Regions from separate parts of the Homo sapiens genome. Here region 2 is linked to region 1. Evidence: promoter capture Hi-C in human tissues and cell types (Jung and others, 2019). All regions are on one chromosome and are shown on one strand. The core of a region is centred on a gene start or on the middle of the fragment in contact, and the rest is flanking DNA. Distances in the headings are between cores, read along the strand shown.

The links. The method cuts DNA at HindIII sites, captures the fragments that hold promoters and counts their contacts. A contact is called where the count stands out against the background at its distance.
Region 2: a contact is called between a fragment that was not itself captured here and the fragment with the promoter of AACS in region 1, in 1 of the 25 tissues and cell types used here (lymphoblastoid cells).

What each region holds. Positions count from the first base shown.
Region 1 is chr12:125,062,108-125,068,178 of GRCh38, forward strand. It overlaps AACS (acetoacetyl-CoA synthetase), which reads left to right and starts at 3,328. Exons shown (of 18, transcript NM_023928.5): 1 at 3,328-3,610. The coding sequence starts at 3,478. It overlaps LOC105370052 (a long non-coding RNA gene), which reads right to left. Exons shown (of 4, transcript XR_001749365.2): 3 at 2,896-3,003. RefSeq lists a silencer at 2,969-3,588. The HindIII fragment of the contact is 13,528 bases long and covers 1-6,071 here.
Region 2 is chr12:125,019,342-125,025,412 of GRCh38, forward strand. It overlaps BRI3BP (BRI3 binding protein), which reads left to right. Exons shown (of 3, transcript NM_080626.6): 3 at 5,650-6,071. Among named protein-coding and RNA genes, the nearest start is that of THRIL, 5.0 kb to the right of the region's middle. The HindIII fragment of the contact is 6,522 bases long and covers 465-6,071 here.

The DNA.
Region 1 (6,071 bases), core at 2,078-4,577:
TCTCTGCTTCCCGGGTTCATGCCATCCTCCTGCCTCAGCCTCCTGAGTAGCTGGGATTGCAGGCACCCGCCACCATGGCTGGCTAATTTTTTGTATTTTTAGTACAGATGGGGTTTCACCGTGTTAGCCAGGATGGTCTCGATCTCCTGACCTTGTGATCCATCTGCCTTGGCCTCTGAAGTGCTGGGATTACAGGCGTGAGCCACCGTGCCTGGCCAACAAAGACATTTCTAAGTGTCTAAACTACACTCTTCCTTAAAAACCCCAGAGTAGCATCTGTTGCAATAGCTGTTAATGAAAAAAACAGAATTCAGTCAACTGAGAAAAACAAAAACAAAAACAAAAAAACCTTTGCTCTAAAAAAAAAGCATCAGTTCCTAGGAGAGAAAAACAAAAACAAAAACATGATAGCCTTTTAAATACAAACACGAGCACATGCGCACACACATCTTGGATGTTAGCTTTTAATGAAGCTGACTTTTAACCATTGAGCTCCTTTAAAAAAATCTTTTTAAAATCTCATTACTATATTTCTGTTAGGACAAATTGCTGCTATTTCAGAAGTACCAAGTAGCAAACCAGAAAGGACTTGATTTAGGAACTAAATCTAGGCTGTCGTGGTTAGAAAAAGCAGGCAGAGCCTTAGCTATGGAACTGCAGCTTGGGGCAACAGCCATTGCTTTCACTTTGGCCTGGCTAGCAAAAAGGTGGCCTTATGTAAATAAAGCCCCTTTAGTAGTTAAAATCAAACATCTTTCCTCTTTTAATTTTTTTCTTTTGCTGGTTGTTTTTTCCCCCTACCAGGCCACGTGTGTGTGTGTGTGTGTGTGTGTGTGTGTGTGTGTGTGTGTGAATTTAGCCACTTTACAGTCCTTGTTCCCAGCAATTTGGAACTTTCCTTTTGATTTGATCAAGTCAGATATAGTTGATCAAACCCAATGGGAAAAGACCAAAGCAACAACAAAAACAGAGACAAACAAGCAACCAAAAAAGCATTTAAGCCAAACAAAAAATGGCACAACTTATATGATCACTGAGCACGCTCTAATGGTAAGGATAAATTAATGTTAGAGGAAAGCGGTCCCGATCCAGACCCCAAGAGAGGGTTTTTGGATCTCACGCAATAAAGAATTCAAGGCGAGTCTACAGACTAAAGCAAATGCAAGTTCCTTAGGAAAGTAGAGGAATAAAAAGATGGCTACTCCATAGACAGAGCACCCTGAGGGGTGCTGGTTGCCCATTCTCATGGTTATTTCTTGATGATATGCTAAACAAGGGGTGGACTATTCATGCCTCCCCTTTTTAGACCATATAGAGTAACTTCCTGACATTGCCATGGCATTTGTAAACTGTCATGGTGCTGATGGGAGTGTAGTAGTGAAGTCAAGCAGAGGTCACTCTCATCACCACCTTGGTTTTGGTAGGATTTAGCCGGCTTTTTTACTGCAGCGTGTTTTATCAGCAAGGTGTTTATGACTTGTATTTTGTGCCGACCTCCTGTCTCATCCTGTGACTTAGAATGCCTTCACTGTCTGGGAATGGAGCCTAGTAGATCTCAGCCTCATTTTACCCAGCCCCCACTCAAGATGGAGTTGCTCTGGTTCAAATGCCTCTGACATTAAGACCAGCTGGCTGTTAACCTTAACTTTAGCCAAGACAAACCCCAATTCAGTTACTTACCTAGGGATGGGTCTTAGGCTGTAGACTGCTCTCTACCATTCTAGAAGCAGGAAAAAAGACCTCATCTTCCCTGTTGGAAGCGAGCTCAAACTCCATAAAGGAGTTACCTGCCTTCCATTGTCATGGAAGCAGGAAACCTTGCCTTCCTTGTTGGAAGCAAGTAAAACTGCAAAGAAAAGAGTTGTACAGCAAAATAAACTTTAGATCTCCACCAAATTTTGGGAGATCAGGGAGGCTCTGGAGGGGGTGCTCTCAGACCTGGGCTCACTCTTGTAATCCCAGCACTTTGGGAGGCCGAGGCGGGTGGATCACCTGAGGTCAGGACTTCAAGACCAGCCTGGCCAACATGGTGAAATCCCGTCTCTACAAAAATGCAAAAATGAGCCGGGCTCGGTAGCTCACGCCTGTAATTCCAGCACTTTGGGAGGCTGAGGCGGGCGGATCACCTGAGGCCGGGAGTTGGAGACCAGCCTGACCAACATGGAAAAACCCTGTCTGTACTAAAAATACAAAATTAGCCAGGCGTGGTGGCACATGCCTGTAATCCCAGGTACTCGAGAGGCTGAGGCAGGAGAATTGCTTTAACCTGGGAGATGGAGGTTGCCGTGTGCCGAGATCTCGCAATTGCACTCCAGCCTGGGTAACAAGAGCGAAACTTCGTCTCAAAAAAACAAAACAAACAACAACAACAACAAAAAAAAAAACACGAAAAATTAGCTGGGCATGATGGCGTGTGCCTGTAATCCCAGCTACTCAGGAGGCTGAGGCAGGAGAATCGCTTGAACCTGGGAAGCAGAGGTTACAGTGAGCTGAGATTGGGACATTGCACTCCAGCCTGGGCGACTGAGTGAGACTCAAAAAAAAAAAAAAAGCTAAGGCGGGGAGGGGGCCTTCCAGGTCATAGGTAGATAAGGGACAAATGGCTGCATTCTTTTGAGTTTTCAATTAGCCTCTGCAAAGGAGGCAATCAGGTGTGCATTTAACTCAGCAGAGGGGTGACTTTGAATAGAATGGAGGCAGGTTAGCCCTAAGCAGTTCCCAGCTTTTCTTTTCCCTTTAGCTTAGTAGTGGGGCCCCAAGATTTATTTTCCTTTCACAAATGTGTATTTTGATACCCATTGGCATACTATGTATATTATTGTATTATACTATGACATTATCTTGTGTATGTACACGATGTACTTATTTGTTAATCGTCTCCCGTCTTCCTCACACCTGTACCCCTCCTCTCCTGTTGACAGAGAACAAGAATTTTGTTTTGTTCGCTGCTGTATCCGCAAAGCTCCCAAAGTCCTCCGAATGCCGCAGGCTCTCAGTAAAGACCTGCAGGAAGAAATAGCGAATGAATGATGTACACGTGTAGGAAACAGCGGGCTCGGACGCCTGGCTTCTCCGGCTGCCCTAACGCCCTCCAGCTCCAGGTGAGGTCGGGGAGCTGGGGCCAAGGCTCGTGAGCGCCCCTCACCCCCACGCCCCCCGGCCGCGGGCGCTGGAGCCGGCGGCTGCGAGCACTCCTTTGAGCGGCGCTGCACTCAGCGGAGGGTTACAGGCGGGAGGGCGGGGCCTGGAAGGGGGCGGGGATTCGAGGCGGGGCCTGCGGGGCGGGGCCTGGGCCAAGCGGCCCGCAGGAGGCGGCGGCGGCCGTTCAGTCCCTTGTTCCCCGCCGCCGCCGTCGCTGACCCAGCCCGCCAGGCGCTCCTGACCGTCGCTTCCTCCGGTCCCAGGTCCCCGGCCCTCGCCTCAGCCCCGGCCCCTGGTCCCCAGCCCTCGTCGCAGCCCCGGCCGCCCGCCGCCGCCATGTCCAAGGAGGAGCGCCCCGGTCGGGAGGAGATCCTGGAGTGCCAGGTGATGTGGGAGCCTGACAGTAAGAAGAACACGCAGATGGACCGCTTCCGGGCGGCTGTGGGCGCCGCCTGCGGCCTGGCGCTGGGTGAGAGTCGGGCGCGCGGCCGGGCCTGCGGGGGATGGGCGGGAGCCGTGCAGGGTGGTTGGGTGGTCTCCCCATGGCTAGTTTCACGCTTCTGGGGCTGGAGGAGCCACTTGATGGCGGGGAGGCCTTCTGACTGCGGGGTTCCCCCCAGTCTTGGGGAACATCACCCCTCCACAGCACCTCCTGGCACTTCCTGACTCTGCAGCGTCTCCTCTGCATGTGGGGGTCACCCTCTCCCCGGGAGTGTCACCCCTCGGGAGGGCCAGCTGCCTGTTGACCGTGTGACCCCTTGCTAGGCTTTCCTACCTGTGAGGTGCTCCCTGGAGTCTTGACCTCCGGCCTGTGGGGGCTTCCCCCGGACATAGGGCCTTTTTGACTTGCAGCTCTTCCTCTGTTTGTGGGGGTCCCTTGCCAGTCCCCAGTGCCGTGCACTCTGTCCCCCTGACCTCCCTCATCTCCAGCTGCCCCTGCTGGAGGCCAGCACCTAGCAGGATGGTCAGGCAGGAGGCCCTGTCCACGTGTCTACACTCCCAGCCCCCAAACAGAACCTAGTAAAAGACTCTCTTTCCACCCATCACCTTGAACCTCAGAAACTGCCTCTCTCGGTGCGGGTGGGGCAAAGGCTCCTTCTCCGTGGGGTAACCGCTCCGGGTGCTCTTCCTGAGCTCTAGCTGGCTTGCCCAACTACCAGCTCCACCCCTCCACCCTGCCTCCCCTAGGTATTCCTAGGGGATTTTTTTTTTTTTTTTTTGAGACAGTTTCTCTCTCGTTGCCCAGGCTGGAGTGCAATGGCGAGATCTCGGCACACTGCAACCTCCGCCTCCCGGGTTCAAGTGATTCTCCTGCCTCAGCCTCCCGAGTAGCTGGGATTACAGGCATACACCACCACGCCTGGCTAATTTTGTATTTTTAGTAGAGACGGAGTTTCTCCATGTTGGTCAGGCTGGTCTCGAACTCCTGACCTCAGGTGATCCGATCGCCTTGGCCTCCCAAAGTGCTGGGATTACAGGTGTGAGCCACGGCGCCTGGCCTCCTAGGGGATTTTTAACTCATGGTCTCCCCTCCTCACCCCCTCCGCTGGCGCAGGGACTCCCTTGTTTCTGTTGGTGGCGTCACTGTTCTTGCTCAGGCTCACAGGGATGGACACCCCAGTCACCTGTGGCACCAGAAGTCTTCTGCCACAGCCCCATGTCGCTCACATCTCCTCCTTTGCAGCCCCTTGTCAGGGGTTCTGGGGCCTCCTTTCCTCCTCACCAAACAGTGGTTGGTTTTCCTGCTTCCTGCTTTTCCATCCATTTGCATCCTGCTTGCTTTGCCAGAGTAATCTTGAAGCATACAGGTCTTACTTTGTCACTCCTTGGCTCAGAAGTTCTCAGTGGTTCCTTGTTGACCACAAAATTGCAGACGGCTGCCTGGCAGCTTCCAGGCCCTCCACAGCAGTGGGGAGCTTCCACAGAGTCATTTTCCTAGGCTAACCCAGAGCTGTTCCTCTCCTTCCCTTCCTCTCCCTTGGAGACAGGTGTAGTCTGTTGCCCCAGGGGCTTCTGGACAGCAGTTGGTAAATGAGTATGTGTTGGATTAGGGCAGCCTGGAGACTCCTGGAAGAAGCAGGAGGCTGCCATGTGGGATTATGTTCTTCCTCTGTGTCACCTTGCCTTGATTCCATCTGTTTCCTCTGCCAGCAATAACAGAATGCTGGTCTGGTGCCTGTCTAGCCCTGATGTTATGAAATAATTTCAGATCGGGCAGCCCTATTAGATGGGTGAAACCACCTTCCTCCGTGGGAAGTGTTGAAGAGAAGGGATTTGTAATCTGACTATCTGGATTTTTTTTTTTTTTAAGCCTCGCTTTTCTCCCCCAGGCTGGAGTGCGACGGCGCAATCTCGGCTCATTGCAACCTCTGCCTCCTGGGTTCACGCAGTTCTCCTGCCTCAGCCTCCCGAGTAGCTGGGATTACAGGTGCCTGCCACTATGCCCGGCTAATTTTTGTATTTTTAGTAGAGACGGGGTTTCACCATGTAGGCCAGGCTGGTCTAGAACTCCTGACCTCAGGTGATCCACCTGCCTCGGCCTCCCAAAGTGCTGGGATTACAGGTGTGAGCCACCGTGCTCGGCCGACTACCTGGGTTTTGAACTAGCTCTACCACTTACCAGCTGTGTGATCAGGAGGAAGTCATTGGATCTCTTCATGCCTTGTTTCCTCATCTGTAAAATGGGCATAACAGGACCTGAGTCATTGAGTGGGTGTGCAGGTGACAGGAGATGGTCAAGCCCAGTGCTCAGCTCTGCCCTGGGTCCCTGGGGTTGTGGAGTAAACATGAGCAAGTGCTGGGAGGGCCCGAGCATGGCTGCGGAGCTCCTTTCCCTCCTTCAGGGCTCTCAGACTGGTGGCCCATGGGCCAGGTCTCATCTCCAGACACACTGTTGAGTTGCCTGCATTTAAAAGTTAGGAGAGGGGGCT
Region 2 (6,071 bases), core at 2,476-4,975, 42 kb before region 1:
GAAGGCAGGGGTGGCATTCTCGTCTCTGGGCATCTTTCCTGGCTGATCACTATCTTGGCCCCTTGATGACACGATGCTTCTCAAAGTATGCTCAGAGGAACCCCAGGAGGTCCCTGAGACCCTTTTGGTTAGGAGGGGTGACTGTGAGTTCCTCTCTTCTCCCGTAACATGTCTCTGAGGTCAGGGATTCAGTACGTACTTTAATACTTCCATATATATTGATGCCACGTTAAGATGATGACATTTTAGATAGATTGGATTAAACAAAATATCTTATTAACATTAATTCCACCCTTTTTTTTTTTTTTTTTTTTTTGCCTTTTTTGCTGTGAGTACTTGAAAATTTTCAGTGACAAACATGGCTCACATTTGTGGCTGGTGTTCTGTTCCTCTGAATTCAAAACCAGATTTGGGGGCCAGGTCTCCTCTAAATAGCTAGATAGGAAAGAGACTGGCAAACATTCAAAGCACTGCCACTGTTCTCAGAGTGGTTTGTTCTGCTTTAGAAACAGTTGCTTTTTGTGAAAAATATTTTGTGTTAACCTATTGTCTTGGTCAGTTCAGGCTGCTATAACAAAATTCCATAGACTGTGTGGCTTATCAACAACAGACTTTTTTTTTTTTTTTTTTTTTTTTGAGATGGAGTCTCTCTCTGTTGCCCAGGCTGGAGTGCAGTGGCGCAACCTCAGCCTCCCGGGTTCCAGTGATTCTCCTGCCTCAGCCTCCTGAGTAGCTGGGATTACAGGCATGCACCACTATGCCCGGCTAATTTTGTATTTTTTTTAATAGAGACAAGGTTTCGCCATATTGGTCAGGCTGGTCTCGAACTCCTGACTTCAGATGATCTGCCCACCTTGGCCTCCCAAAGAGCTGGGATTACAGGCATGAGCCACCGTGCCCGGCCTAACAGACATTTTCATTTCTTACAGTTTGGAGGCAGGAAGTCCAAAATGAAGGCACTGGCAGATGCAGGCTGTGGGGAGAGCCCTTTCTTGTAGACGATGCCTCACTGTGTCTCACATGAAGGAACAAGGCGGTTCTCTGGGACCTCTTTATAAGGGCACTAAACCCATTCATGGGGGCTCCACCCCTACGACCTGATCACCTCCCCAGGACCCCACCTCCTAAGACCATCACTTTTGGGGTTAGGATTTCAACATAGGAATTTTGTGGGGGACACAAATACTCAAAGCCTAGCATCTGTAATGGGTTGTTATTTGAAAATGAGTTAATGATAGCAATGTTTTTAAATTATTAACAATGGCTGGACACAGTGGCTCATCTGGTAATCCCAGCACTTTGGGAGGTTGAGGCAGATGGATTGCTTAAGCCCAGGAGTTTGAGACCATCCTTGGCAACACAGTGAGACCCTGTATCTACAAAAAATCAAAACATTAGCTTGGTGGTGCATGCTTGTAGTCTCAGCTACTTGGGAGGCTGAGGTGAGAGGATCGCTTGAGCCCAGGAGGTAGAGGTTGCAATGAGCTAAGATCATGCTACTGAAGTCTAGCCTGGGCTACAGAGCAAGACTCTGTCTCAAATAAATAAATAAATAAATAATAAAATTTAAAAGATAATTAACAACTAATTAAAAACTACCTAATTTTCTGCTATGGAAAATATATCAGTTAGGTAGAACCCACATAAACGAAAGCTCTGGGGACGCTTCAATAATACTGAAGAGTGCAAACGGTCTTGAGACTGAGAGGTCTGGGAAACACTGGTTTAGCCTCCAGTCTGCAGGGGACAGGTGTGAAAGTCAGCTCCCAAGTCAACCACATTTAGTCAAAATGCTCACGATGCCTCAGGAAGGCACAGTGTAGCAAACACACTCTGGCTTCTGGGGAGTCCTGGTGACCCCAAGCCTTTAGTCCCAGAGATGGCTGCTGTTTACAGTGTTGGACTCTAGACACTGGCCAGCTGTGCGGAGTCTGATCATTTTGGGGAACTATGAGATGTTCACGCCGTAGGTGTCGTTATTGACCGGAGGAGCTCCAGGGTTGAGGCTTCCCATCTCAGGCCTGCTCTGGATTTGCGCTTGCCCACTCCAGATCGTTGTGTCACACTTTGGTCCTCTTTGGCTGGGCGTGGTGCCTCACACCTATAATCCCAGCACTTAGGGAAGCCAAGGCAGGCAGGTTGCTTGAGCTCAGGAGTTCGAGACCAGCCTGGGCAACATAGCGAGATCCTATCTGTATTTGCTGGTTTCCACACTGCTATAAGGAACTACCTGAGGCTGTGTAATTTATAAATAAAAGAGATTTAATTGACTCACAGTTCCACATGGCTGGGGAGGCCTCAGGAAACTTGTAATCATGGCGGAAGGCAAAGGGGAAGCAAGGCACGTCTTACGTGGTGGCAGGAGAGAGGAAGCAAGAGCGAGGGGTAAACTGCCAAACACTTTTAAACCATCAGATCTCGTGAGACTCACTCACTTTCATGAGAATAGCATGGAGGAAACCACCTCCACGATCCAATCACCTCCTACCAGGTCCCTCCCTGGACACGTGGGGATTACAATTTGAAATTAGATTTGGGTGAGAACACAGAACCAAACCACTTCACTGTCTCTACAAAAAAATACAAAAATTAGCCAGCTGTGGTGGTGCATGCCTATAGTCCTAGCTACTCGGGAGTCTGAGGTGGGAGGATCGCTTGAGCCCAAAAGGTCAAGGCTGCAGTGAGCCGAGATCACACCATCACACTCCAGCCTGGGTGACAGAAAAAGACCCTGTCTTAAAAAAAAAAAAAAAAAAAAAAGACCACAGATTCTTGGGCCCACCCAGGACCTACTGAATCAGATGTCCTGGGGGTGGGGCCCAGCAACCTGTTTTCCTAAGCCCTCCAGGGGATTCCTGGAGGAATCACACAAGTTTGAGAACTGCTTGTGTGAGAAGGCTTAGGATATAACTCTCCTTGAACTCATTAAACAACACTGTCAGGAAACAAACAATTGCAGCATGTGGGACCTCCTGCAAGAAAACCATCCTGGAAAAATTAGACTTCAGAATTTCAGTGTTTCTAAAATGTCATGGGTCTCTTCTCAATTAATGGAGACTAAAGTGATGGCAAATGCTGAACGTGAACTGTCGCTGGGTCCTGGTGAGGGTTGGGAGGAAACAGCTATTCCTGGATAACTGAGAAATTCAAGTGATGTTATATGGAATTGTTAATTTATTATTTATTTATTTATTTATTTATTTTTTGAGACAGAGCCTCACTGTGTCTCAGGTTGGAGTGCAGTGGCGCCATTGGCTCACTGCAACCTCTGCCTCCCTGGGTTCAAGCGATTCTCGTGCCTCAGCCTCCCAGGTAGCTTGGATTACAGGTGTGCGCCACCACGCCCAGCTAATTTTTATATTTTTAGTAGAGATGGGGTTTCACCATGTTGGCCAGGCTGGTCTCAAACTCCTGATCTCAGGTGATCCACCCACCTTGGCCTCCCAAATGCTGGCATGAGCCACCGTGCCCAGCCTGGAATTGTTAATATTCTTAGAATGATGATAGTATCATGGTTTTGAGGTGAATGATGTCTTTATTCTTAGATGTATGATGAAGTATGATGTGTACATCTTTCAAATGGGTTAATCTAAAAAGTATGTAAATAGAGAATGCAACATTCAGAATTTTTAATAATTGTTCAGTCTAGTTGGTTTCAAAAGGAATATTCTACTGTTCTTTTAACTTTTTTGTTTGAATTTCTTCAAGTCAGGCACACAGAAGATGCTACTCTTACATTTCACTGCATTCTTGAGATGGAACTTCGTGTGTGGGTACCAGTTAGGATCAGGTTTGGCTGAAACAGAAATCCAACATAACATTGGCTTAACCAAGATGGACACCTATTTCCCTCTTATATGAAAGTTCTCAGGGAGGTGGTGAGGCGGGTTTGATGGCTCTGATGCATGTGGTGCTCTGGACCAAAGCACCTTCCATTTTATTGTTCCTCCATGAGTGCCTTCCAAAATGGCTGCTCCAGTTCCAGCCATTGTATCCATGTTCCAGCAGGCAGAAGAGGTAAAGGACACATTCCTGCTACTTTTAGGGAACACATGGCCAAAGCTTAGTTATGTAGCTGCAAGAGAGGCTAGGAAATGCTTTAATCCTAGGTAGTTGTGTGCCCAGCCTGAAGGTGGGCATTTGTTACTATGGAAATTGAAGGACAATTTGCAGGCTATGCCCCACTTCCAGAGGTGTTTTAGTAAAAGGTGAAAGTTGTCTTTTGAGACAAAGTCTTACTCTGTCACACAGGCTGGAGTGCAGTGGCACATTATGGCTCACTGCAGCCTCTACCTCCCAGCCTCAAGTGATCCTCCCACCTCAGCCTCCTGAGTAGCTGGGACTACAGGTGTGTGCTACCACACCTGTCTAATTTTTTTAAAATTTGTGTTCTCTAGAGATTGGGTCTGTATTAGTCTATTTTCACACTGCTATCAAAACATACCCGAGGCCAGGCGCAGTGGCTCACACTTGTAATCCCAGCACTTTGGGAGGCTGAGGAGGTGGATCACTTGAGGACACTAGTTCAAGACCAGCCTGGCCAACATGGTGAAACCTCATCTCTACTAAAAATACAAAAATCAGCTGGGTGTGGTGGCATGTGCCTATAATCCCAGCTACTTGGGAGACTGAGGCAGGAGAATTGCTTGAACCTGGGATGCAGAGGTTGCAACGAGCCAAGATTGTGCCACTGCACTCCAACCTCAAAAACACAAACAAAAAAACCAAAAAACCTGAGACTAGGTAATGCATAAATAAAAGAGGTTTAATTGACTCACAGTTCTGCGTGGCTCAGGAAACTTATAATCATGGCAGAAGGCAAAGGAGAAGCAAGCACCTTCTTCACAAGGCAGCAGGAGAGAAAGAGAGAGCAAAGGGGGCAGCTGCCAAACACTTAAACCATCAGATCTCATGAAACCCCCCCCCCTCCACTGTCACAAGAACAGCATGGGGAAACCACCCCCATGATCCAATCACCCCCCACGAGGTTCCTTCCTCCACACGTGAGGATTATAATTCAAGATGAGATTTGTGTGGGAGCACAGAGCCAGTCCATATCAGGGTCTCACTATGTTGCCCAGGCTAAAGGTGAAAGATGTATATGATTTGAAGAGAAACCAGTATATGGAGAGGTTTTTAAAACTCAACATGGCAGGTCGTCTTAAAGGGCTTCCCTGGCTGGGCATGGTGGCTCATGCCTGTAATCCCAGCACTTTGGGAGGCCGAGGCAGGTGGATCACCTGAGGTCAGGAGTTCGAGACCAGCCTGATTAACATGGAGAAACCCCGTCTCTACTAAAGATACAAAATTAGCCGGGTGTGGTGGCGCATGCCTGTAATCCCAGCTACCCCGGAGGCTGAGACAGGAGAATTGCTTGAACCCAGGAGGCGGAGGTTGTGGTGAGCCGAGATCACACCATTGCACTCCAGCCTGGGCAACAGAGCAAGACTCCATCTCAAAAAAAAGAGGCTTCCCTGTGTGTCCTCATGGAGCAAAGTGTGACTATTCACAGAGGAACTTCCTTGAGTTCCTTTGGTTGTTGCAAAGGCCTTTTAAGCCCCACAGGCCAGCTCAACTATCCAATTCTAGCTTGTTAAGAAACCCCTGGCCCCTGCGTAACGAGCCCTGTTCCTCTTTTCTGTCCCGCAGTCTCCAACCTGTCCCAGTATTTCAGCCCAGCCTCGGTGTCCAGCAGCCCGGCCCGCGCGCTCCTGCTGGTCGGCGTCGTCCTCCTGGCCTACTGGTTCTTGTCCCTGACCCTGGGCTTCACTTTCAGCGTCCTGCACGTGGTGTTCGGCCGCTTCTTCTGGATCGTGCGGGTCGTCCTGTTTTCCATGTCCTGCGTGTACATCCTGCACAAGTACGAGGGCGAGCCGGAGAACGCGGTGCTGCCGCTGTGCTTCGTGGTGGCCGTCTACTTCATGACCGGGCCCATGGGCTTCTACTGGCGAAGCAGTCCCAGCGGCCCCAGCAACCCCAGCAACCCCAGCGTGGAGGAGAAGCTGGAGCACCTGGAGAAGCAGGTCAGACTGCTCAACATCCGTCTCAACCGGGTGCTCGAGAGCCTGGAC